Regions from separate parts of the Homo sapiens genome. Here regions 2, 3, 4, 5, 6 and 7 are each linked to region 1. Evidence: promoter capture Hi-C in human tissues and cell types (Jung and others, 2019). All regions are on one chromosome and are shown on one strand. The core of a region is centred on a gene start or on the middle of the fragment in contact, and the rest is flanking DNA. Distances in the headings are between cores, read along the strand shown. Region 1 holds the start of PTPRM (protein tyrosine phosphatase receptor type M). Region 2 overlaps PTPRM (protein tyrosine phosphatase receptor type M). Region 3 overlaps LAMA1 (laminin subunit alpha 1). Region 4 overlaps PTPRM (protein tyrosine phosphatase receptor type M). Region 5 overlaps PTPRM (protein tyrosine phosphatase receptor type M). Region 6 has its middle 44 kb from the start of LRRC30. Region 7 overlaps PTPRM (protein tyrosine phosphatase receptor type M).

Evidence for each region. The method cuts DNA at HindIII sites, captures the fragments that hold promoters and counts their contacts. A contact is called where the count stands out against the background at its distance.
Region 2: a contact is called between a fragment that was not itself captured here and the fragment with the promoter of PTPRM in region 1, in 2 of the 25 tissues and cell types used here (lymphoblastoid cells and mesenchymal stem cells).
Region 3: a fragment that was not itself captured here is called in contact with the fragment with the promoter of PTPRM in region 1 in 2 of the 25 tissues and cell types used here (lymphoblastoid cells and thymus).
Region 4: a contact is called between a fragment that was not itself captured here and the fragment with the promoter of PTPRM in region 1, in 1 of the 25 tissues and cell types used here (mesenchymal stem cells).
Region 5: a contact is called between a fragment that was not itself captured here and the fragment with the promoter of PTPRM in region 1, in 1 of the 25 tissues and cell types used here (mesenchymal stem cells).
Region 6: a contact is called between a fragment that was not itself captured here and the fragment with the promoter of PTPRM in region 1, in 2 of the 25 tissues and cell types used here (heart left ventricle and mesendoderm cells).
Region 7: a fragment that was not itself captured here is called in contact with the fragment with the promoter of PTPRM in region 1 in 2 of the 25 tissues and cell types used here (dorsolateral prefrontal cortex and spleen).

Annotation. Positions count from the first base shown.
Region 1 is chr18:7,565,636-7,569,091 of GRCh38, reverse strand. PTPRM (protein tyrosine phosphatase receptor type M) reads right to left here and starts at 1,776. Exons shown (of 33, transcript NM_001105244.2): 1 at 1,201-1,776. The coding sequence starts at 1,273. RefSeq lists a silencer at 1,726-2,095. The HindIII fragment of the contact is 7,623 bases long and covers 1-3,456 here.
Region 2 is chr18:8,069,173-8,072,628 of GRCh38, reverse strand. It overlaps PTPRM (protein tyrosine phosphatase receptor type M), which reads right to left. Exons shown (of 33, transcript NM_001105244.2): 8 at 2,635-2,943. Among named protein-coding and RNA genes, the nearest start is that of PTPRM, 500 kb to the right of the region's middle. The HindIII fragment of the contact is 4,913 bases long and covers 1-3,456 here.
Region 3 is chr18:7,070,111-7,073,566 of GRCh38, reverse strand. The region is part of intron 3 of LAMA1 (laminin subunit alpha 1); the gene reads left to right. Among named protein-coding and RNA genes, the nearest start is that of LAMA1, 46 kb to the left of the region's middle. The HindIII fragment of the contact is 8,767 bases long and covers 1-3,456 here.
Region 4 is chr18:8,052,684-8,056,139 of GRCh38, reverse strand. The region is part of intron 7 of PTPRM (protein tyrosine phosphatase receptor type M); the gene reads right to left. Among named protein-coding and RNA genes, the nearest start is that of PTPRM, 490 kb to the right of the region's middle. The HindIII fragment of the contact is 4,024 bases long and covers 1-3,456 here.
Region 5 is chr18:8,032,863-8,036,318 of GRCh38, reverse strand. All of the region lies in intron 7 of PTPRM (protein tyrosine phosphatase receptor type M), which reads right to left. Among named protein-coding and RNA genes, the nearest start is that of PTPRM, 470 kb to the right of the region's middle. The HindIII fragment of the contact is 3,709 bases long and covers 1-3,456 here.
Region 6 is chr18:7,185,282-7,188,737 of GRCh38, reverse strand. No RefSeq gene overlaps it. Among named protein-coding and RNA genes, the nearest start is that of LRRC30, 44 kb to the left of the region's middle. The HindIII fragment of the contact is 6,611 bases long and covers 1-3,456 here.
Region 7 is chr18:7,904,523-7,907,978 of GRCh38, reverse strand. PTPRM (protein tyrosine phosphatase receptor type M) reads right to left here. Exons shown (of 33, transcript NM_001105244.2): 4 at 1,396-1,474. Among named protein-coding and RNA genes, the nearest start is that of PTPRM, 340 kb to the right of the region's middle. The HindIII fragment of the contact is 4,661 bases long and covers 1-3,456 here.

The DNA.
Region 1 (3,456 bases), core at 527-3,026:
TAAAAAGCCCAACTTACTCATTCAACTCACTTGTTCCCAAACGCAGAGACCTATTTTGCAAAAACCAAGTTTAAGACCAAAGAGCAGGCTTTTTTATTAAAGAAAAAGAAAGCCCACCGCCCCCACTGCATGTGGACCTTAATGAAACTAATCTAATAAACACTAGAAAGAAGGTGTGCAAATGGGCCAGCATTTGCCGTCTATCCACCTGTGTCACCCAGGTAATAAAGGTCATCCTGGTTGTAAACCCCTGTGACAGCGTGCCGGGTTCGCCCCCACGCCGGACCCCCGACTCCGATCCACAGATCCTCTCCGTGAGGGGTTCCTCTGGGCTTAGAACGCCCCCGCGCGCGCGTGCAGGCACACACGCGCACACACTCACACGCTTGCTCGCACACCGCCAGTGCCTCTCCTTCCCACCTGGGACCCCCGGGCAGCCGGGCTGGATGAACAAGTTGCAGCTGGCCGCGGCGCTCCGCTAGGGGGACGAGGGTGGGGAGGGGGAGCCCAGCGGGGCGCAGGGCCGTGGCCAGGGCCTGGGGACCTGCCCGCTTCCCTCCGCGGCCGCCAAGCCCTACCGCTGGGACCGGCGAGGAACTCCCCCCAGCCTCTCCGCAGACGCTGCACGACCGCGGGGACCTCCCGGGGTCGCCAGCCGCGCCGGGCAGGGGGCGACAGGGAGGGCAGGGCACCGGGAGATCGCCGCCGCCGGAGCGGCCGCCAGTTCCCGGCGATCGCTGCGGGCGCAGCCGAACACCAGCGGCCTGGGCCCGGCCGCTGCTCGGGGTCGGCGGGGACCGCGCAGCGCCTACGCCAGGCGGCCCGGCGGCTGCAACTGGGAACTTCAAGCAAAGTTTTCTGCTGTTCCTTTTGCAGCCGGCCAGGGACTCAAGAGTGCAAGCCGCCCAACCTTGAGCACTAGCCCAGGCCGCGGAAGGACGGCGGCCGAGCTGGCAGTCCCGGCTGGGGAGCTCGCCCTCGGGGTCCGTCCGCTCCGCCCGCCCGAGGACTGGGTGCCTGCCAGCCCCACGGCCCCTCGCCCAGCGCCCGGCTCACAGGCAGAAGCGGTGTCCGGCCCGCCGCGCCCCCCGCCCGGCCCCGACGCCAGCCTTAGGGCTCTACCACCAGGGAGCTGTCGGCGTCCCGGGCGTCCCGCGCCGGCCCGCGCGCCTCGGGGGCGGCAGAGGCGGTCCCGCTTACCTGAGAACGTCTCGCCCGCCGCAGTTAGCAAAAGTCCGGCCAAAGTCGCCAGGCAAGTCCCAAGTCCCCTCATGGTGCTGAGTGCGGGCCGGGCCGCTCCCCGGCGGCGGTGGGTGGGCGCGCGAGGGCGGAGGGGGCCGGGAGCTTTGGTTCCGAGGCAGCGAGGAGAGACGGGTAAACAGCAGAGCGCTAAGCCAAGCCCCCAAAGTGCCAACAGTTGCAGAAGTCCGAACTCCAGCGGCTCCAGGGGCGCGGGCACAGGGTCCTGGGTCCTCCTCCCCTGTCCCTGGCCCCACTCGGCGTCTGGCGCCGCTGGCAGAGGGAGCGGAGGGCGAGCCCGCGGAGCCAAAATCTTCCCTCGGTTCCGGTTGCTGAGCTCGCCGCCTCTCCCCTTCCCCTGCCCGGGACCCGGGACCCGAGCTGCCGGCCGTGGCCGTGGCGGTGGCCGTGGCCGTGGCCGCGCGCGTTCCGCCCGCCGCCTCTCCACAGGCAGCCCCAAGCCCAGCCCCGGGCGGCGGCGCGCCGATGACCGAGCCCGCGCCGGCTGCGCGCGGGGCTCTTGCTCCCCGACTGACTGGCGGTGCCCCGCAGGCCGGCTGAAGGGAGCGCTCACGTCACGGCCGCCCGGCGCCGCCGCGGCCCGCTAGAGGGCGTGAGCGCCCGTGCCCCGCCGGCCCGCGCCCGAGCGCCTCCGGGAGCTCGGCTGGGGGCGGCCCCGCGGCCACAGCCACTACCGCCGCCGAAGCGGGCGTCAGCCGCGCGGGGAGGAGCGGCCACCGGGCTCCCCCCGCCCACCTCCTCGCCCCGGCCGCGTCTTCTATTTTGGTAGCTGGCTCTGGGGAGGGTGACTGTGGAAGAGGCTGCGCCGCCGCCAGAAGTTTGTCCCGGGTCACGAGCCGCGAGTAGTTTGTGAGCGCGGCCGGGCGGGACCAGCGGCCTGCGACCCCGCGGGCGCGGCCAGGCGGCTTCGAGCCTGGCGCCGGACGGCGATGTCACCGCACAGGGCCAGCTGCACCCGGAGTCGCCGGGCCTGCGCTGCTCGGCGGCTGCGGGAAAAGCGAGCCAGGAGATCGCTGAGGCTCCGGAGGGCTGCGAGCTTCTCTACGCCGCGGGCGGAGCGAAGTTGGCGGGCGCCGGGAGATGGCGCGGGAGCCGGGAGCGCCGAGCCCCGCGATCGCCAGCCCGCTCCCGGCCGGGCCCGCCGGGTACACGCCGCTGGCCCCGAGCACTGGCGCCCGGGAAGCAGGGCGCGCTTCTGCTGTTCTGCGTCCTCATCATGCCTCGGTGTCCCGTGTGGGCCCGAAGCGAGCCGCAGGCAGTACACGGAAGGCGGTGGTCACACCAAAACCAGGGTTTGGACATAACCCGTGGTTTCTGTATCTGGTGCAAAGTGCTGAGAAACAGGGGAGAAAGAGAAGTGGGGGGTGAATCAAGTAATGTCTTGAAATATTTTAGTTTTACGATTTTGGGTCTGAGTGAATTAAAAAAACCTTACAATGCTTCAGCAAAAAATAATTTTTTTATTTTAATTGTAAATTTTTTTGTAAGTGATCCTTCTATCTTCCAGGGAATAAGCACATTGAGCCAGCACCAACCAGACAGCTGTAAGCTCCTGGCCTAGCTAACTGAACGCAATAGAAGGCTTGGGAAGAGGTTAAATTAGGAACCAAAGTAACTGAGTGACAGGGTTCTAGCAATGATTCTGGCTAGAAGGCAAACCGGTGATACAGAGGCACCCAGGAGCTCTCCTGCACTTTTTCCGCAAGAGGGGTCCTCTGCTTAGTGCTCACTGCTTTCTAGTGCTTATAAACACGTAAAAAAATAAATGGATTCCACACTCATCTTGACCCTGTTCTCCACTGTACACCAGAACCAAGAAAGATACAGCTGTCATCCTCCCAAGGCAAATTTGGGGACTAGAAGACTTGCCTTTAGTGTGGCAACCAACACTCCTCTTACTTCAGGAAGTCCACTTACTAGATACTTACCAGACCTGCTCTTTAGAAGTCTCTATATTAATCATTTGCTTGTTAATATGAGCTTACATTGTCCTGCCACTTCTCCCAACTATGTGCTTATGGAACCTTATCTTTAATTGTGAAATGAACATTGAAATCTCAGAAAGGAAGCAATGTCTTCAAGATCAGCAAGTGAGGATGGTCAAATCTGCAACCTGGGCTTTCCATTTTGATGTACTTGTGTTCTATACTGCAGTTCAAATTTGCTTTAAAAAAAATTAGTAATAGGCTTTCCAAT
Region 2 (3,456 bases), core at 407-2,906, 500 kb before region 1:
TGATGGATAAACAAAGTGACTCCCCAATTCTTTTCTCTTCAAACTGGATACTGTTTGACAATTATTCTATTTCTTTCTTCTCTCTGCCTTTTCTGAAGTATTTTTTTTGGAGGGGTTACAAAATATAATTTGAAATTAAAGTTTTTTCTAATTAATGAAACGCTAGTGTGCTAGGAAAACAATAGATTTTTATTTGGAAGTAATGCATGCTCCAGCTTCAGGGACTAGCAAGATAATTTAAACAAACAAAGTAATTCTGTCCTCATGTTTTGATGGAATTTAACAGAATTCCTAGCTCATGACAGTTCTCAATTTGAAACCCATAGTGTTCAATAGGTTCATGCTTTAGCAATATATATCTGGAAGTGACTGCATTTTATTTCTCTCATTGATGTAACCATTATTGTTTATTAAAACATGAACTAAATGCTTATCAACAATACTTTATTATTTCATTTAAAGACCTAAGGTATTTTGGGGTGTTTATTACTTACTCAATATCACGCCTATTGCTATAGAAGAAAAACAGACAGTACTTCTTGTCAAGTAGTTTACAATAAAAAGAAAAAAATACATACAAATAACATAATGAGGGAGCAAAGAAGAATCATGAGTGGCTATGAATCATTACAATACTAAGAAAGGCCCCTTTCTGACAGCCTACAACCAGCTCTCCACATAAATTTCTTCTATCCCTAATGTATCTAAGAATTGTTATTATTCTCACTTCTCAGATCAGGAAATTGAGGGTCAGAGAGTTAAGGATCTTATGAAGTACAATTAAGGTCAGAGGGATGTGAATAACACAGACTGAAGAGCTGGAGACAGCTATGTGAAGGACCTGAAATGTGAGGAGAGCTTCAGCTGGTAGCAGAGTAGGCGAGCTTGAGAAGCGGCCAGGAGAGGCCCCGACTGGCCAAGGAGAACAATCAGGCAACGATGGGAAGCCCAGGATGCACAGAGCAGGCACAGGGACCAGCACTCAGGGATGGCTTTGCAGAACAAGATGCTGTGAAGGAGAAGTTATTACTCCTAGAATATGAGCCAAGAATACAGAAGACCTTGACAGCCAAGGCACTGGAATGAAGATTAAGTGAAGAGCCACTCAAGACTTTTGTAGAGAGACAGCCAAGATGAAAATACATTTTTAAGATTAGTGAGTGAGTGAGTAGGGGGACATTAGAATAGAAAAAGGCTGGAACCACAAAGAAAAGGTAGAAACAATTATAGAAATTTCAGCATAAAATAATAAGGATTTGAATACAGCCAATGGAAATTGACAGAAAAGAACAATCTAAAACTTTGGAAGTAGAAACAACAGATGTTAGGACCAGAGTCAATAGAGAAATGTAAGGCAGGAAGGAGCCAGCCATAACTTGATGACAATGTGGACACCATCTTCTCCTCTTCTGGGAGATGAGAGAGAGTTGGAAGAAACAGAAATAGAGCTTCTGGTCTCAGCCTTGCCTGAGTGGCTTCCATCAAACTTAGACTCCCTCTCAAACAACTGCTTGAGAGGAACCAACACAAGCAGGACTTGAGGGACAATAAAAGAGGAAAGAAAGGATGTGCAGTGAGTTCCTCATCTACTCCAGCTATTTCTATGTTTTTCTTCTACAAAAATACGCAGGTGCTGGGTAGGTAGAAACACTCAAAAATACTTTTTTAGCTCTTTAAATGAAACGATAAAGTAGTCTAAACATTCAACTCACAATTTAATCAATGGTCAAAATTACATTATCAGTTACATGAAGAAACAAAAAGCTAAACAACTATTTTTCTTAGGAATAGTCAGTTCATTCGTTTAATGGTCTTCCTACATTCTTTGTCATTCATTTTGATGCCGGAAAAATGATTTTTAGGTCAAATTTATGATATACTACCATTGTATTTTATGTACTATATGAATATGTCATTACACACAAGGGTTCCCTGTGTCATCTGTGTAAAGAAACATTTATATCCACGCATTGAGATTCAAGGCATAATTTTACTGTTTTAAATTACTATGGAGGTTTCCTGTATATTTGCTTTTTTGATGCGTTACTGGTGACATGCATGGTTTATTTGTAAAGTAGTTGTTTATTAAAGTAACATCCGGTTTCAACATTGTTCCTGTGGAGAAAAATGACCTGTTTCATGACCACCAACTTACAGTTTCTCAAGACTGTGTTGAAAAGCAAGGGCAGCCCCTATTTAGTGCTGAAATTTTATCTGAACTATGAAAAATGTTTCAGAATGCCATTTAAATATATTTAGGTAAACATTTTATATAAATAATCTAATACCCAAAACAACAATTTTTCAGTCCAATGATTTTATATAAATAATCTAATACCCAAAACAACAATTTTTCAGCCCAATGAAATAAAACTTGAAGAACTATTGAGAGCAATATGGAATGATTATATATAGAAAAGTAACTGTATGAGTAATAAAGAATGACATTTCTATATCTCTACTCCCTTTTCCCTCTTTCAATCAGCGCTTAAGAATACAGAGTACAGATACACATTTGTGTTGTTCAACAAAATAAGTAGTTCTTTCTTCCATCTGCACAGCAAAGATCTCGAAACAAAAGTTGTTTTTTGAAAGAACATGTTTTACACAAACATATCATTCAAAGGTACTCACGGTCTTCATCTGTCTGCACTATGAGTTCTTGGCTTTCCTTCCGGCCCTCTGGGTTCATGAGGATCAGTTTCACACTGACATTGGTGTATGGTGACAGGTTAGTGATCGTGTGTTGAGGGTGTGAGTTTTCTGTATCCCAGCTTACTTCTTCTCGCACTTGTTCTTGTCCTCCAACTTGGTAACAGTAGTGGACAGTGAGATTATAACTGTGGCAACGAGTTACATTATATCCAAATGGCTCCCAGCGGATAGTGATTTGCCGAGATTTGACCTCCACTACTTCTAGTTTTCTTGGGCCTCGCATGGGATCTATTTAGAAAAGAAGACAAAAGAAAACATGAGAGAGAAGAAAGATAAAGGCTCAGGTCAATCCCAAAGGTCACAGATATTCCCAGTTGTCCCCACCACCTGGTCTCCTCTTCTTCCTGGATAATAAATCCCTAAATCTTGGCTAGGCATTTGGCTACCCAGAATAAAGATGAAAGTTTCCATTATTTTCTGCAGATGGATGTGGCCATGTGCCTAAGTTCTGATGAATGGCATATAAGATGAAATGTCCAAAATAGTTTCTGAGAGGTGTTCTTAAAAGGCAGGGGCTCACCATCTTTGGTCCTTCTTATTTCCTATTAGCTGGATGGAGGATATGATGTTTGGAGCTCAGGCAGCCATGGTGAACCATGAGACACTTAAATGTTAAGAATTCAAAGCAATGATGAAGGAGGAGCCAGGGTCTCTGATATCACTGAACTACCATACCAGCCCTGACCTTCCTACTTCCAAACTTGTCATTAGGAAAAATTAAATGCTATCTTACTTAAGCCT
Region 3 (3,456 bases), core at 443-2,942, 500 kb after region 1:
TGTATGTACCCTGGAAACATTACGCTAAATGAAATAAGCCACACACAAAAGAAGAAATATTATATGAATCAATTTGGATGAAGTACCTGGAGAAGTCAGTTCATAGAGACAGAAAGTGGAGCGGGGTGGTTGCCAGGAGCTGGGAGGAGAGAGAATGGGGAGTTGTTGTTTAATGGGTGCACAGTTTAGGTTCGGAAGTTCTGGAGATAGATGGTAGTGATCATTGCACAACAGTGTGAATATACTTAATGCCACTGAATTCTACACTTAAACATGGCTAAAGTCGTGGTTTTTATGTTACGTATATTTTTCTACAACTTAAAAAAGTTAATACACTGTGAAATATTTGGTGTATTATGTCAGCCAGGGTCAGTCAGGAATATGGAAGCCACACCAGTCATTTAAAGGCACAAATTTAGTGTGAGGAATTGGTTTGACAGTGTGGGAGAGCTGGGAGAGGGAGCAGGAAGGTAACTTGGGGGTAGTAGTGGTGGAGGAGGCAGCAACGCAGGAGGGTGTGGTTATAGCACCTAGAGCCTGGGAAGAGAGTCTCCTATCTTTCAGAATGCTCTTCTGGGGGTCCTGGAAAGCTGGAGGCTGGAGTCAGCTGCTACAGCCCAAGGCAGAGGGCCGCTGCTGGGCAAGGCTGATAGGACCCGGAAGTAGACATGGGAGAAGTCCTGCCTCCCTCCAGCCCTCCAGCCTCCCACTAGTGTCGCCGTCAGGGAGCATCGATTTGCAGCGTCCCAGCCTCAGCATCCAAAGCTGGGCTGGCAGGTGCTTAGCAACCAGCGCAAACACTTCTTCTCAGTAGGTGGTCACTTGCACCAGTATACCAACAGAAACACAGAGACAGAGCAGCCCTCGACATCCTGGGGCAGGATTTTGTTATTATGGTGGTCAGCCACATCCTAAATATGCTCATATTAAGTTTTTTAGAATAACTTTGGAATGAAAATGCAAATTTTAGAATTCTCCTGGAGAAATCATGGACTGCTGTCTAATACATTACAAACTAGGTATTCTTGGTTCTCAGCCGAGAGACTGCATCAGGGCACCAGCTTGGTCCTGGGACCTTCAGGACAGGGATGGAGGAAATACAGAAGCAGTTCCATTTATGTATTAACTATTGGGTTTTGGTGGTGTGATGTGGTGGAGATGCATGAAGTGTGGTAGGGTGATATATACAAAGTGAAATGTGATAGCTTGAAGGATGTAGAGTACCTAACAAACTCCTCACATTTAATAAACATGAGTTTTCTTTCCCTCTGTCATATTTCTAATACACAAATTACTTTAGGTTCCCAAAGATCTTCAGATATCACCAAGGGAAATGTTAAACCAGGCCTTAATAGAATCTAATTACAGTTAGCTAACAGGATTAAGGAGTGCAGTTATGCAGATTTTGAGAAATTCATAAGTCAATAATTATTCTGTTTTTTCTGATTAGGAAATTAAGATGGAATCATCATAGAAAAATGGAAGATAAGATAAGTGTAAACAGGCAGAAACACATCATCTCTTCGCTCTGTAACAATCGCTAATTGATCCCTTGGGATATTTACTTTGTCATTTGCCTACAATTCTATGCATTTAATAATGCTACAACAATACTATCATGTATTACATACTTACTGTGCCAGACATTGTGCTATGCACTTGATCAGGATTATGTCATTGAATTCTCATAATCGCCTGTGACTTGGCTCCTGTTATTATCCCCTTTTGACAGATGACGAAACTGAGACTTAGAGAGTTTAAGAGGCTTGCTCAAGGGTAGGACTCACTGAAGCTTAAGAGCCTGAGCTCTGCATCATTGCACCACTCTGACCCTCCAGCTGAGACAGATTATGTGATATATAAATTTGTGTTCTAATGTTTTATGTAATTGTATAGCATGAACATTTCCCAGTATAACTGAAACTCATGATTAATAATTGTTAAAGCTGCATTAATAGTTTCTATATGGCTTACGCATCATTTGCCTAAGAATCCTCAGGCCTGACATTTTGGTGCTTTTTCTGTTATGGGTAATAACTTGAGCTTTCAGTGAAAAAAGGTTCATTTCGTATGTATACCAATGAAGTAATACAGTGAGTATCAATCATGTTTGAGGTTTATATGACAAATTTATGGTTAATTTTGTTTTGAGCATCTTTTGAAAGAGGAATGTTATTAACAGGTACATATATAGGAATTTATAGATATGGGTTATAGCATTTTTTTCCTCGTCCATGTTATTTCATCTGCTTTTCCCAGCAGTTCTGGAATGCGAGTGATCGCCTCTTTGCAGGTACAAAAATCACGGCACAGAGTAAGCAGGTCACAGGCTTGCCCAGAGTCTACGGCTGCAGGTGCTCAAGCTAGGCCTGGAAACCAGGACCTCTGGTTCCCTCTACACCATGCCACGCTGTCTCCTTGTCTTTGGTCTCCAATTATTGTTTTCCTTTGTTCTGACTTTATGGGGAGACTGGCAAGAGCTCTTGCAATTCCCTCTTGATGTTGGGAGTGTTCAGATTCTAGCCCTTTCCCTCTTGTTCTGTTTGCCTGCTCAGTAGGGTCCTCTCCCCTATGAATCCAGCAGGGTATTGACACTTCCTTCATGCTTTTGCAGTGGCTGATAGAATTGGGTGCTACCTAACGTGTTTTTTTTTTTTTTTTTGATCAAGAAGCAGGAAAATAAATCAGTTATCTCCTATTTTCCTTAAAAAACTTTTAAAGCCGGAGAACATTTCAGTGGGAGTGAGGGTCAGATTTGTGAGTAAAAATGTATAATAGTCTTTTAGAAGATAAGATCTGTTTTGTAAAAAAGGGAAGTTCCCTATGGCATTGAAAATAAAGCTGCCTTTTGGAGCAGTGCTTTATTTTATGTGTAGGTTTAATTAGGAAGTAGCACTTTGTTGTGGGAACATAATCACAGAGGAGCCTTTGTTTTATGCAAACTTTTAGACAAGAGCTGCTTGTGTGCTGGGTTTTGTAAAACCTCATTAATTCAGATGTCAGTTGTTTTTTCCCCCAAATTTCTGAAAAATTGACCAGTATTGAGTGAGGTTTATTATTATATCATTCAAATATAAAGTATTTATTAAGCACATCGACAAGGTCAACAAGAAAATAGGGAAATTTCACATTCTTAAGATAAAATCTTTAAAGATTTTTATTGCAAGAATTGCATCTAAATTGGAGCGTCTCATTACAAGTGAATTTTGGCTGTTCCTGGAAAGAGATTAGGCAGAAACCCTTCCTAGAAGCACTCAGATAGAAATTACTTTTACTGTATGCTTTTTGTACTCTAATGATTCTATTCCAGTTTTCTATTACTTCATACTGGCCTCCACCAATTTCAAATATTAAGGTTTCTTGAATTTGCTTGGTAAAATAAATAGATTGGAAGAAATCTTAAGCTCATCATTATGATTTGGAAGTAAGCCACCCTAAATTCCTGTCCTTCAGACA
Region 4 (3,456 bases), core at 352-2,851, 490 kb before region 1:
ATAAATTAATAAATGAAGAATACATCCATAAAGTAATTATTACAATTTCTGATTATAACAGAATGGCATATCATTTACTCTCAAGGACTCTCCCATTTGAAAACAACTAGATCCGGTATAAGACAATTTTTTTAATTGCGTAGGATGTAGTGTGTCTCCAGCAACACCTTACACCATGTCCCTTATCCAAAACAAAGGGTAAGGTGGAACTCTAGTTGTCTATATCAGCACCGGCATCCAAAGATTAAGCCATGGGCCAGGGGCAGGGAAGCCAAATATGATGTTCTCAAGGTAATCTCATACGAATAACAGTGTGTAAAGTATCTGCAGTCAGTACCATCTCCTGATTCCAGCAAACACAAATACAAATCTTCTATAAACACACTGATACATAAATATAGGCCTCCTACTTTCACAAATAAAGCCCACCCAAATATAAGCTCACTAGTAAAGATTAACAAAAATAACAGAAAACAAGATGCCCTGACAGAGTCAAAAGAGATAAGAAACAACAGATTCACATCACTCAAATTACCAGATTCAGAATATAAAATTTGCGTGCCACTTCTAAAATTAAAAATGTAATTCTAAAAATGAACATGTAATACGTCACTGAAAATGACCAATTTTAAAAACAGCTAACGTAACTTTTAGAAATAAAAACACTGTTGAAATAAAACAAAAACCTCAATGGATAGGACATTAATTATGTACTGTATAAAACTAGACAGCAAGATTGGACACAGCTTAAGACAGAATTAGTGAAGTAGTGCATGGATCAGAGGAAATTATCTAGAATGTAGCACAGAAAAATAGAAATAGGAACATAATAGAAAATAAGAAAGGAAGATGGAGGGCAAAATTAGAGGGTGTATCTATGTCTAATTGGCATTCCAGAAGTAGAACACAGGGAATAGAGGAGAGGCACTAACTGAAGACATAATGTCTGAGAAATTTCCAGAATTGACAAGAGATATCAGTCAAAAGATACAGAAAGTATAACATATACAAAAGATAGAAAAATTAAATTCCACATTTAGACATAATGTAGTTAAACCACCAACACCAAAATAATCAAAGAGATGATCTCAAAAGCATCTAGAGAGAAAAAGCACATCACCTACAAAGTAATGGCAGATTGAACAAAGAGTTCTAGACAACAACAGTGGAAGGCAAAAAACAAGGGAACAAAATATTCAAAGTACAAAGAGAAAATATGAATATGTCAACTTAGAACTATATACGTAGCAAAACTATCATTCAAGGATCAAGACAAAATAAAGCTAATTTCAAAGAATTGTACCTGAGTGAACTTACTACCAATGAACCTGCAATAAAGGATCACCTTCAAAAAGAAAAATGAGTTTTGAAAGAAGGTCTGAGATGCTAGAAGAAATGGTGAGCAAAAAAACATAAAAACTTATGTTTGTAAAATAACAATACTGTCTAATTTTAGAGCTTTTTATATATACAGAATTAGACTGCCGACAACAAGAGCATACACACAGGTAGGGCAATGCTCAGAGTTACAGTGTTGTAAGATCTTTCCATCACTGGGAAGGGAAGTTTAAGATATCAACTATAAACTTTAAGTATGCAAGGCAAACTCTCTAGGGTAATCACTATACAGATAGCCATAGGATAATACCTTCAGTAACAAGTAACTCATCTAAAGAAAAAAAGTTATTTCAGTCAATTATGGGAAAAAAACAAAAGAAAAGAAAAAAGGCAAGGGGTGAGGGGAAATGTAGAAAAACAGGAAAAACCAGAAAGCAAACAGAAAAGTGGTACACAGAAGTCTACCACTAGTAGTAGTAATATATATATATATATATATATATTACTACTACTAGTATATATTACTACTAGTATATACTAGTAATGACAATACATGTAAATAAAATATTGTCTATTAAAATGCCCAGAGAATTAAAGGTAAAATCAACATCGTGCCATAATCTGTTTACAAAAAATAAATCTAAGCTGTTTCACTATAACATTTTCCTGGAGGTTCCATTCAGTACAGTAAGAAATGAAAAGTGTAAGAATGAAACAAGAAAAAACAGCACTTTAATTATACACAGACAATGTGACAGGCTTGGCAAACAAGCAGGACCTACAAGTTATACAAAAATAGCAAATGTCAGCAAGGTGACCAAATAGGGGATTAATTTTGAACTCCTCTGCATTTTTTGTATATTATCAAACTGAAACATTACTGAATTTTTTTCATTTACAACAAGATCAAATGATATAAGGAGCCCAGGAATAAATCTTACAAGACACCAATAACAGATAAAAATCCAAAACCTCATTGAAAGACATTAGTGAGGACCAAAATAATTGGAGTTATACCATGTTTATGAATGGGCAGACTCAATGTGGTAAAGGTGTCAGTTCTCCCCAAGCTAATCTATAGAATCACTACAATTTCAATTAAAACCTAATTAGAGTTTTAAGGAACTTGATAAATTGATTCTAAAGTAAATAAAGACGTGCAAAGGTCCCCAAACAGAACACTCCGTAGGAAGAATGAGGTAGGAAAATTTGTTCTATCAGATGCCAAGAGTTATTTAAAAGCTACAGTAACTACACAGTGTGGTGTTGCTGAAAGAACAGACATGGAGCACAACAGAAATCCTGATGTTCTATATGATAGAGGTGGTGTTTCTGATTCCTGGGGGAAACACAAGTGGTGCTAGGAGAAGTGGATTCCTACTCTGTATCATATACAAAAATCAATTCTGACTCAATTAGAAGCACAAAAACCCAAATTTAATTTTTTAAATTAAAGAATGTAGGGGATTATTTTTTCTGATTACAGGGCAAAGAAATAGTTCTTAAGCACCAACTATCAATGAAAAGCTTGATAATTTATGCTACACTAAAATTAAGAACATATTTATCAAAATGTATCATAAGGAAAGTGAAAACCTAAGCTAAAACCTTATTATTGTAAAGAAGGGAAAACAACCAAACACAATAAAGACAAATGATATAAAGAGGTATTTAGTAGAAAAGTAAAAGGCAAAGCACAGAATAGAAGACATTGGCAACCACTAAACAAACGAGAGATATTGATTATATACAGAACTTCCACCAATCACAAGAAAAAGCTGACAACTCAAAAGAAAAGTTGGTAAAAGAACAGGACTTTTGAAGAAGAGGAAAATTATAGACCACAAACGTGAAAATATGCTCAAGCTTAATACTAATCTGAGAAATGCACATTAGAGTCAAAGTAAATTCCATTCTATACCAATCAGATTCACAAAAATTAGAAAGTCTGGTAATACTGATTGTTGGCAGAATGTAGATCAATGCAATGTGTTATACATCATTAATGAGAGTGGGATTGGTACAGCCACTATGGAACACAAGTTGGCATCATCTTGTAAAGCTAACCTTAGAATACAATCCAGCTGTTATATTCTTAGGCATAAATCCTAGAATAGT
Region 5 (3,456 bases), core at 357-2,856, 470 kb before region 1:
CAGCATGCATTGCCTTGGGGCAGTAGATGCTGTTTGGGACAAATCAGAGTGTAGAACATTTTCTATTGTGCCAGAACAGCCTCCTTGAACCAATTCATTTTTACTTTGAAACCAAACACAATAATTTTTATCCTTCTGTTCCCCGGAGTTACCCCGACGCCATGTGAGGAGCTATCATGATCCTCCAAGTCTTCCTTTCTCACAGTAACCACCACCAGTTGATGCAACCTCCAGCATGATGTGGCTACTCCGCCTGAAACTATCCTTCTTTGTTGTATTTCAATAATATTTGGAGTGTTTACTCCATTTTGACACCTCATTCTTACTGAGGCATAGGTGCTCTAAGATACTCAGTAAGATATACACTGAGGCATAATAAATATGTCAGTATTATAAAATCATTTCAAGTAGCTTATTTCCTTATTCACCTTGAACCTCAATTTTTAAAAAACAGGGTTGTTAAAAAATAATCGAGATACAAAATACTGTGCATATTTAATGTATACAATGTGATGAATTTGCATATATCCATGTGCTCCTGTACCACAATCAAGGTAATAAACATGTCTGTCATCTCCAAAAGTTTCCTTGTACCCCTCCAGTTTGTGTTTATTTCTTTTGTGGAGAGAACACGTAACATGGGATCTGTCCTCTTTTTATAGGTACAGTCAGCCCTCCGTATCTGCAATTTCTGCATCTGCGGATTCAACCAACCTCGGTCCAAAAATATTGGGGGAAAAAAACAATAAAAATAATACAAATAAAAAATAATATAGTATAAGAACTATTTACATAGCATTTACATTGTATTGGGTAATATATACAATCTAGAGATGGCTTAAAGGCTATGGGAGGGTGTGCACATGGCACACCACTTTATATCAGGGACTTGAGTAGCTGCAGATTTTGGTGTCCTGGTGGGGAGGAGGGGGGCAGTCTTGGAACTAATCCCCCCTGGATACTGAGGGATGATTATATTTTTTCTGCATGATTTGCAGGTTATTTTTCTTCACAGATAGAATAAATCTAAGAATTAAACTTTTTATTCAATTTAGCTGAAATTTCCAAGCCAAATTTTGAAGATGCAGCCTGGTTTCTCATTGCTGCTTATAATAAAATGGAAGTGGAAAAGAGACGAATTGAGAAACTATTAAGCCAAAGACATCAGCATTTGATAGTTTGGAAGATTCTCGGCTATCCAGATTGCAAAGGATATTAAAATTAGGCTGTCCACTGTGGGGAAAGGTGCTCTGGAGAGAGGGTCAAGGGAATGGCTGGACAGCCCTTTGCTAAGGGGATTATGTGTGTGACTCATGGATCCAATCAGCCATGTCAGCAGAAGCCAGGAATAAGAATGGGGTTATCCTTGAAAATTCCATGGAGGCCTCTCTTGTCTAATGACCTGGATCCTCTAACATACACAGGAGACCCACTAGGCTTATGAAAATGTTGTATCAGCACAAACACTACCAGCTTGGACAGAATGAGGACAGAGACAGGATGAGATGAAGGAAGGCTGTTAGACTTCCGGAATTCTACAGGAAGAAAACAGGCTGATAGAGCCACTTGGCTGAAAATATATACTATTGTTCAAGGAAAAGGAAAACAATCCCTAGGGGAGAGCCTTGAGCCCAGAAGCAGAAGCCGGCAGAACTGTGAGCCCAGAGTGGAGCACTGGGCCACAGAGTATTATTCTTAGGCTCTGAAATATAATGGAGTTTGATCTGCTGGATTTCAAACTAGCTTGGGTCTTGTGGCCCCTTTATTCCTTCCAGTTTCTCTTTTGTGGAATGAGAATGTCTATCCTATGCTTGTCCCATCACTGTATTTTAGAAGCAGATAACTTTTTTTTTAGTTTCACAGGTCTACAGATGAATGGAGATTTTGCCCACAGATGGATCACACCCAGAGGCTCAGACATATCTGATTCAGATGATTTAGATGATGAAACTTGGTACTTTTGAGTTGAAGATATTTAAATGGGATTTTGGACTTAGATTTGACACTATAGTGGGTTGAGACTTTTAGATGTTGGGATAGGGTGAACGTATTTTACACATGGGCTGGAGGACCATGTTTTGGGGTCAGAGGGTTGGCTGAGTAGTGGTTCCCCAAAAGATAAGTCTGTGTCTCAAAACCTGTGAATGTGACCTAGTTCGGAAAAAAAAAAAACTTTACACAGGTAATTAATGTAAAGATCTAGAGATGAAGAGATCATCCTAGATTACATGGGTTGACCTTAAATCCAATAATCTGTACCTTTCTGGAGATACACAAGGGAGATTTGAAAACCAAATGAAGTGAAGGCCACATGAAGATGGAGGCAGAGACTGGAGTGATGAAACCAATGAACCAGCACGTGGCAAGAACCACCAGAAGCTAGAAGAAGCAAGGAATGGAATCTCCCCTAAAGCTTCTGAAAGGAGCACGGCCCTGCCAACACCTTGATTTCAGACTTCTGCAGGCTGTGTGAGAATAAATTTCTGTTGCCTTAAGTTATAAAGTTCATGTTAGGAAGTTAGAAATTTGTTACAATAACTAGTAAAAGGTTATCAGTCCATAATTCAGGTACTATCATTTAAAAACAAACTTTTCGGTTTGATAGACGTTAACAAATCTATACAGTGATGCCCCAGAGAATGGTATTTTGGTCAATGACAAACTGTGTATAAGACAGTGGTCCCATAAGATTACAATACCGCATTTTTACTGTACCTTTTCTACACAAATAGATACCATTGTGTTACAGTTGCCTTCAGTATTCAGTATAGTCACATGCTGTGCAGGTTTGTAGCCTAGGAGCAATGGGCCACACCATATACCCTGGGTGTGTAGTTGGCTCTACCATCTAGGTTTGTGTCTGTGCACTCTACGATGTTTGCACAACCATGAAATGGTGAAAGACACATTCTCAGAGTATATCCTTATTGTTGAGTGACACATGACTGTATAGTGTCTATACATATAGTGTATAGTCATGATACATACAGTGTATGTATAGTACATATGTATAGTTACATCTGTGCTTAGAGCTGGTACTGACTTTTAAAATATGTTTAATAAGTATTTTTATCTCTGTTTTCACAAATTGCCTGTTATAATCCTTTGCCCAGTTTTATATTATAGTATTCATTTTTTAATTGATTTTTAAGACCCTATAATAGACTGAAGTTATTTTTACTTCAGATTTTAAATTTTTTCTCTAAGTTGTCATTTGTCCTTCTCTTTTAAAAATATTTTTTATATGAATAGATGTAAAACTATGTAGTCAAATTCATCAATCTTTTATTTAATGGTTTTGAATTTTGAGATCATACTGAGAAGAATCTCAGGCTTTTCAATGCTCAAAACTACAAAAAATATTTGCCTGTCCTTTTTTTTAGTACTTCCAAGGCTTCATCTGTTTCAGTTAAACCTTAATCTCTATGGGGTTAAACCTTAACCTATAGGGGGTTA
Region 6 (3,456 bases), core at 621-3,120, 380 kb after region 1:
AGATGCATAAAAGTTTTAAATTGTTATATCTTCCTAGTTAACTGGAACTTAAATCAATAAGAAGCCCCCTTCACGTTCATCCATGTTGGAGCAAATGACAGAATTTCCTTCTTTTTTAAGGCTGTATGGTACTCTATTGTGCATATATACCACTATATACCATATCATCTTTATCCATTCATCTGCTAATGGACATTTAGGTTGATTCCATAAGTTGGCTATTGTGAATAATGCTGCAATGAACATGGCAGTGCAGACATCTCTTCGACATACCTAGTTCAATATTTTGGATAAATACCGAGAAGTAGGATCTCTGGCTCTTATTTAGTCTATTTTTAGTTTTTTGAAAAACTTCCAAAAAGGCAGGGACAGAAAGACAAATAATGCATGTCTTCACTTACAGGTGGAATCTAAATCACTTGGACTTCTAGAAGCAGAATGGAATAGGATGGTGGTTACTAGAGGCTGGGGTTGGGGGCCTTGAGGAGATATTGGTCAAAGGGTATCAAGTCTTAGGAGAAATGTTTTGCTTGGAGATCCAGTACACAGCATGGTGAATACAATTAATAATAGTGTATTGTATATTTCAAAGTTGCTCAGGCAGTACATTTCAAATCCTCTAACTACAAAAAAGGAAAGCATTTGAAGGAATGGATATGTTAATTAGTTTGATTTGTTATATTATGAATATATTGTATTCATAAATCATAACATCACTTTGTGCACCACAAATATATACAATTATAATTTGTCAATTTACAATAAAATAAAATTCTTAAAAAGAAGACATAAAAAAGCACCCTGTCAGCCAGGCGCAGTGGCTCAGGCCTGTAATCCCAGTACTTTGGGAGGCTGAGGCGGATCTTCTGAGGTCAGGAGTTTGAGACCAGTCTGGCCAACATTGTGAAACCCCGTCTCTACTAAAAATACAAAAAATAAATAAAAAATTAGCCAGGCATGGTGGCGGGCACCTGTAATCCCAGCTACTCAGGAAGCTGAGGCAGGAGAATCACTTGAACCTGGGAAGAGGAGGTTGTAGTGAGCCGAAATCGTGCCACTGTACTCCAGCCTGGGTGAAGAGCAAAACTCCGTCTCAAAAAACAAACCAACAAAACCCACCAAAAAACAAAAAAACAACAAAAAAAAACCACACCCTGTCAGCTGGGCGTGGTGGCTCACACCTGTAATCCCAGCACTTTGGGAAGCTGAGGTGGGTGGATTATCTGAGGTCAGGAGTTCGAGACCAGTCTGACCAACATGGAGAAACCCCGTCTCCACTAAAAATACAAAATTAGCCGGGTGTAGTGGCACATGCCTGTATCCTAGCTACTCAGGAGGCTGAGACAGGAGAATCGCTTGAACCCTGGAGGCAGAGGTTGCCGTGAGCCAACATCACACCATTGCACTCCAGCCTGGGCAACAAGAGAGAAACTCAGTCTCACAAAAAAAAAAAAAAAAAAAAAAAAAAAAAAGCACCCTGTGTTACCAGTTTTGGGGGGTTTGTTGCCATAAGATCGATTGTACCTAGTATTTTTTTTTTTTTTTTGAGACAGAGTCTCGCTCTGTCACACAGGCTGGAGTGCCGTGGCACAATCTCAGCTCACTGCAAACTCCGCCGCCCGGGTTCATGCCATTCTTCTGCCTCAGCCTCCCAAGTAGTTGGGACTACAGGCACCCGCCACCACGCCCGGCTAATTTTTTGTATTTTTAGTAGAGACGGGGTTTCACCATGTTAGCCAGGATGGTCTCGATCTCCTGACCTCGTGATCCGCCTGCCTCGGCCTCCCAAAGTGCTGGGATTACAGGTGTGAGCCACTCTGCCCGGCCTATTGTGCCTACTATTAATAGGTTTCTTCTGGTTGGTGTTTACATGGTTTATCTTTTTTTGTTGTTTTACTTTCAACCTTTCTGGATCCTGTATATTTTAGATGCTTTTAAAAAATAGTTCCTGCAGCCAAGCATGGTGGCTGACACCTGTAATTTCAGCACTTTGGGAGGCCGAGGTCGGTGGATCACCTGAGGTCAGGAGTTCGAGGCCACCCTGGCCAACATGGTGAAACTCCGTCTCTACTTAAAAAAAAAAAAGAATTAGCTGGGCATAGTGGGGCATGCCTGTAGTCCCAGCTACTTGGGAGGCTGAGGCAGGAGAATTGCTTGAACCTGGGAGGCAGAGTTTGCAGTAAGCCAAGATTGTGCCATTGCACTCCAGCCTGGGCAATAGAGCAAGACTCCGTCTCAAAAATAAATAAAATACAAATAAACAACTTATAACTGTTTACTTTTAGTAATTTCTCTCTAAAATCATTGTCATTTTGCTGGAACTTTTAGCACATTAATATGAATTATAATTGGTGTTTAATTTGGATTTATTTCTACCATATTATTTGTGCTTTTTATTTGTTCATCCTGTTTGTTCGTTGTTGTTATTTATTTTTCTCTCATTTCTTGCCTTCTTTGCATTGATGGAATATTTTTTTCCTTTCTATTTCTTTGTTTAATTTCAATCGTTTTGGGAGTACAGGTGGTTTTTGGTTACATGGATCAGTTTTTTAGTGGTGGTTTCTGAGATTTTACTGCACCCATCACCTGAGCAGTGTACATTGTACCGAATATGTAGACTATTATCCCTTACCAGCCCCAACCTTCCCCTCGCTAAGTCCCTGAAGTCCATTATATCATTATTATGACTCTGCGTCCTCATAGCTTAGCTCCTACTTATGAGTAAGAACGTAACAATATTTGGTTTTCTATTCCTGAGTTACTTCACTTAGAATAATGGCCTCCAGCTCCATCCAAGTTGCTACAGAAAACATTATTTCATTCCTTTTCCTGGCTGAGTAGTATTCCATTGTGTATATATACCTCATTTTCTTTATCTCTTCATTGATTGATGGGCACTTAGATTGGTTTCATATGTTTATGACTACAAATTGTGCTGCTACAAACATGCATGTGCATCTGTCTTTTTCATATAGTGACTTTTTTTCCTTTGAGGAGATACCCAGTAGTGGGATTGCTGGATTGAATGGTCTATTTCTTTTGAAACAATTGTGGCAGTTATGCATGATATTTCTTTTTTATCGGTTTATTCATTTCTATTTTTAAAAATATTGAGAACCAACTATATTCCAGGCACAGTCATGGGTGCTTAGGAAAAGATTGATATGCAAAGTAGTAAAGGTTCCTATTCCTGGCCAGGTGCCATGGCTCACACCTGTAATCCCAGCACTTTGGGAGGCTTAGGTGGGTGGATCACCTGAGGTCAGAAGTTCAAGACCAGCCTGGCCAACATGGTGAGACCTCGTCTCTACTAAAAATACAAAAATTAGCCGGATGTGGTGGCGGGTGCCTGTAAACCCAGCTACTTGGGAGACTGAGACAGGAGAATCACTTGAACCCAGGAGGCGTAGGTGGCAGTGAGCCGATATCACGTCATTGCGGTCCAGCCTGGGGGAC
Region 7 (3,456 bases), core at 526-3,025, 340 kb before region 1:
TACTAGAAAAATAGAATGTAGTAAATCCATATGATAGAATACCATGGATTGACCTAAAATATCTAACACTTAAGTTAAAAAAAAAAAAAGAATACAGAGAAATTTGTATGGCTGGAAACCATTCATTAGCATTTATAAAAGGCAATCCTTACTTTTTTGCTTTTATAAACCCTTGGGGATTATGGGAAAGAGCACACACATGCGCATACACACACACACACACACATTTGCGGTGTTCAGTTGCTCAGCACTATATGTTTCTCAGTAAAAGTTGAGGCCCAGCTCCCTTGACAGAGTGGGAAAAGCCAACAACTCACTTTCCTAGTGACACCAATTGCCAGGCATGAATGAGTGCATGATCTAGCTCGCTCACCCTGACTATCCCCCTCAGGGCTTTGCACCTAAGGCCAAAGATGCCAAGGCCCAAATCAGCGCAGAATGTCTAGGCAAGGGTCATCTTCCAAGGGTAAGGTGCACAGAGACACAGCGCCAGCTCCCCTTGTCCTCGCAGCTGGCTCCCCTGCCATAGTGGTTGCTGTGGCTGCTTGCGTAGCCTCACTTTGGGGGCCTGCTCATCATCTGAGTCTAGACCACTAGTGTTCTCAGGAATACCACTGCCCTCCAATTCTCTATCAACAGGATGCCTTTTCTGCTTCAAGCAGCTACAGTCTGTTGCTGTGTGCAGACTAGAAACCATAACAGGTGCAACAACCAGCTCACCACTGTGGTGGCCCCTGGGGGGCAGGGTTTGGGGAGAAACAGATCTAGCAATTTGTACTATTTTATTTAAGGAAAAAGGTTCACATACAAATATGACAAACTGTTAGTTGTTCATAGTAGAAATTTTAAAAATTGTATGTTTATCACCTATTGTACTTTTTTAAAGTATTAATTTTTAAAAGATGAAGAGCAGGCCATTTCTGGGGTCCCCAGGTGGTTTAGGTAGGTGTCTTTTATTTGACAGATCCCAGGCCTGTTTGCAGCTATATCACCTGAAACCATGTGATAAATACTAAGGAACTGTGCCAAAAACATACTGGACTTATAAACAAAACGCACAGATTCTCAATATTTAACTTTGTGCTACTACTGAAAAGCGAATTCTAAAGACCACGGCAACAAATAAACAGGTTCTTTGCAAAGATGTCTGAGCATGCCAAAGAATTCCTTGATTCCCCATTCCTGAACCAAATTTTAAAAGACTTATACAAACCATGGCATTTACACAAAGTACATGCTTTTGGATTTCTGGGCTGGCAAACCAACAATACAGGCCTGTCAGGGAACTGTCTTGGCAAGATGACCTCTTCACAGGTTTTCATCCCTTCTCTTCATTCATAATGTAAACATGCCCCCAATGATGTACCCGAATATTTACAAATAAAGACAACTTACTACATGGATGTCCTAACACCTTCACCTCATCGATAGCGAGATAGCCTTGATGTCCAGAAGTTATCACTTCAAAAATCACCTGGAAAATTAAGAAAGATTTACATTATTTATTCATTTTGTCTTACTTTTACCAAGTATCTCCTATATATAAGACACATAATTTCGTTTATTCTTTCACCAATTCATTCATTCATGTACGTAACATCTGCTAGTCAATGTTCCAGGTTCTAGACTACAAAGATAGGCAAGACCCCACCCCAGTCTTCAGGGAGGTCAATAGGTAGTGAATGCGTTAGACAGAACCCCAACTTAGAAAACCCATAGTGAAAGGATACTTCATGGGGTTGCGGGGGATGACACATACACTGTAGGAAAAGCAAGGAAGCTCACAGGATAGTGAGTTGGCACAGACGGCAACTTGTTGGTGGGTAAGCTGCTTGGGTGGAAGATGGGGACACCAAGATAGAAGAGGCTTTGGGGTTACCTCTCCAACAGTTTCAGCAGATAGAAAGGATTCCCCACCCAAAGCCAGGGTTGAGCTTGTGAGAGATCCTGAACATGAAACAAAGTCTAAAGAAGACTTTTAAGGTTGCACTGTATGTTAAACCCACTGCCATACACACATTTGGATTGTGGTTGTTTTCCCTCAAGAGACAACGTTAAGATTCAGATTGCTTTAGGTGATCTAAACCTTTTCTGAAGGTTCTGAAAGTAACTCTCTGACCACACTGGACCATGTGGGGTAGTAAGATTTACACAAGTGAAAAAAAATACAGTAAGTGTAATGAAAGAAGAGTGCAGTGTACTATAAGAATATACACATGGAGGACCTCCCATGAGGAGGTGAAATCTGTGCCAATAGCTACAGGATGAGAAGGAGCTAACAGTGTGAAGAGGACCAGGCTCAGTCCTGGGCACATGTGAAGGCCCTGAGGTGGTCATGACCATGGCCTTCAAGGGGAGAATTGGGACCTACCGCCACAAAGGTCAGCTGTGGCCAGGCTGCAGAAGACTCCACTTCAGGACAGAGACACCAGGAAAGATAGCCTATTAATAATGCAGTGAAGAGAATATGCTAACTGAAAATCAGACAATAAAGCTATGAATCAAGAGGAAAATAATATAAAAATGTCCACAGTGGCAAAATCAAGAGGGCGTTAGCTCTTCCTTGATAATTGGAGAAGCAAGAGAAGAGGAAAAGGCCTACATGCCTGGAGGTTCTAAGAATGGCGGAGTTTTTTAAGATGGTGGAGCCACTTCAGAGAAATTAAGGCAAAAAAGAAAGAACCAGGGCTGGGCGCGGTGGCTCAGGCCTATAAACCCAGCACTTTGGGAGGCCGAGGCAGGCAGATCACCTGAGGTCGGGAGTTTGAGACTAGCTGGCCAATATGGTGAAACCCCAACTCTACTAAAAATACAAAAATTAGGTGGACGTGGTGGCATACGCCTGTAATCCCAGCTACTCAGGAGGCTGACACAGGAGAATCGCTTGAATCTGGGAGGCGGAGGTTGCAGTGAGCCGAGATTGTGCCATTGCACTCCAGCCTGGGCAACAAGAGCAAAACTCAGTCTCAACAAAATAAAAAAAAATAAAAAAAAGGAAAGAAAGAAAGAACCAGTAAAAGGGTTATCAATTTTCTTAATCTGATTAATTGACTAAAAGTGTCAGTTGTCAGGCTATCATTTAAAAGATCCACATGAATGTTATTTTGACCTCCATTTACACACAGAATGAAACTATCTCACCGGGGAACCATGACTCATGATGGTAAGTCTTAAAATACAACCTAACCATTGCACTCTTGGAGATTCATCCCACAGAAATGTAAACTTTCATTCATATAAAAATCTGTGCACATCATATTTACAGAAGCTTTATACATAATAGCCAAACAACAGAAACAGCCCAGATGTCCTTCAACTTGTAAATAATACACTGTGGTCCATCCACTGTATTAAATACTACTCAGCAATAAAAAGGAGCAAATTAATGATGTACCTAACAACTTGGGTGAACTTCCCGATAGCTATGGTGAGTGAAAAACACCACTCCCCGAAGAT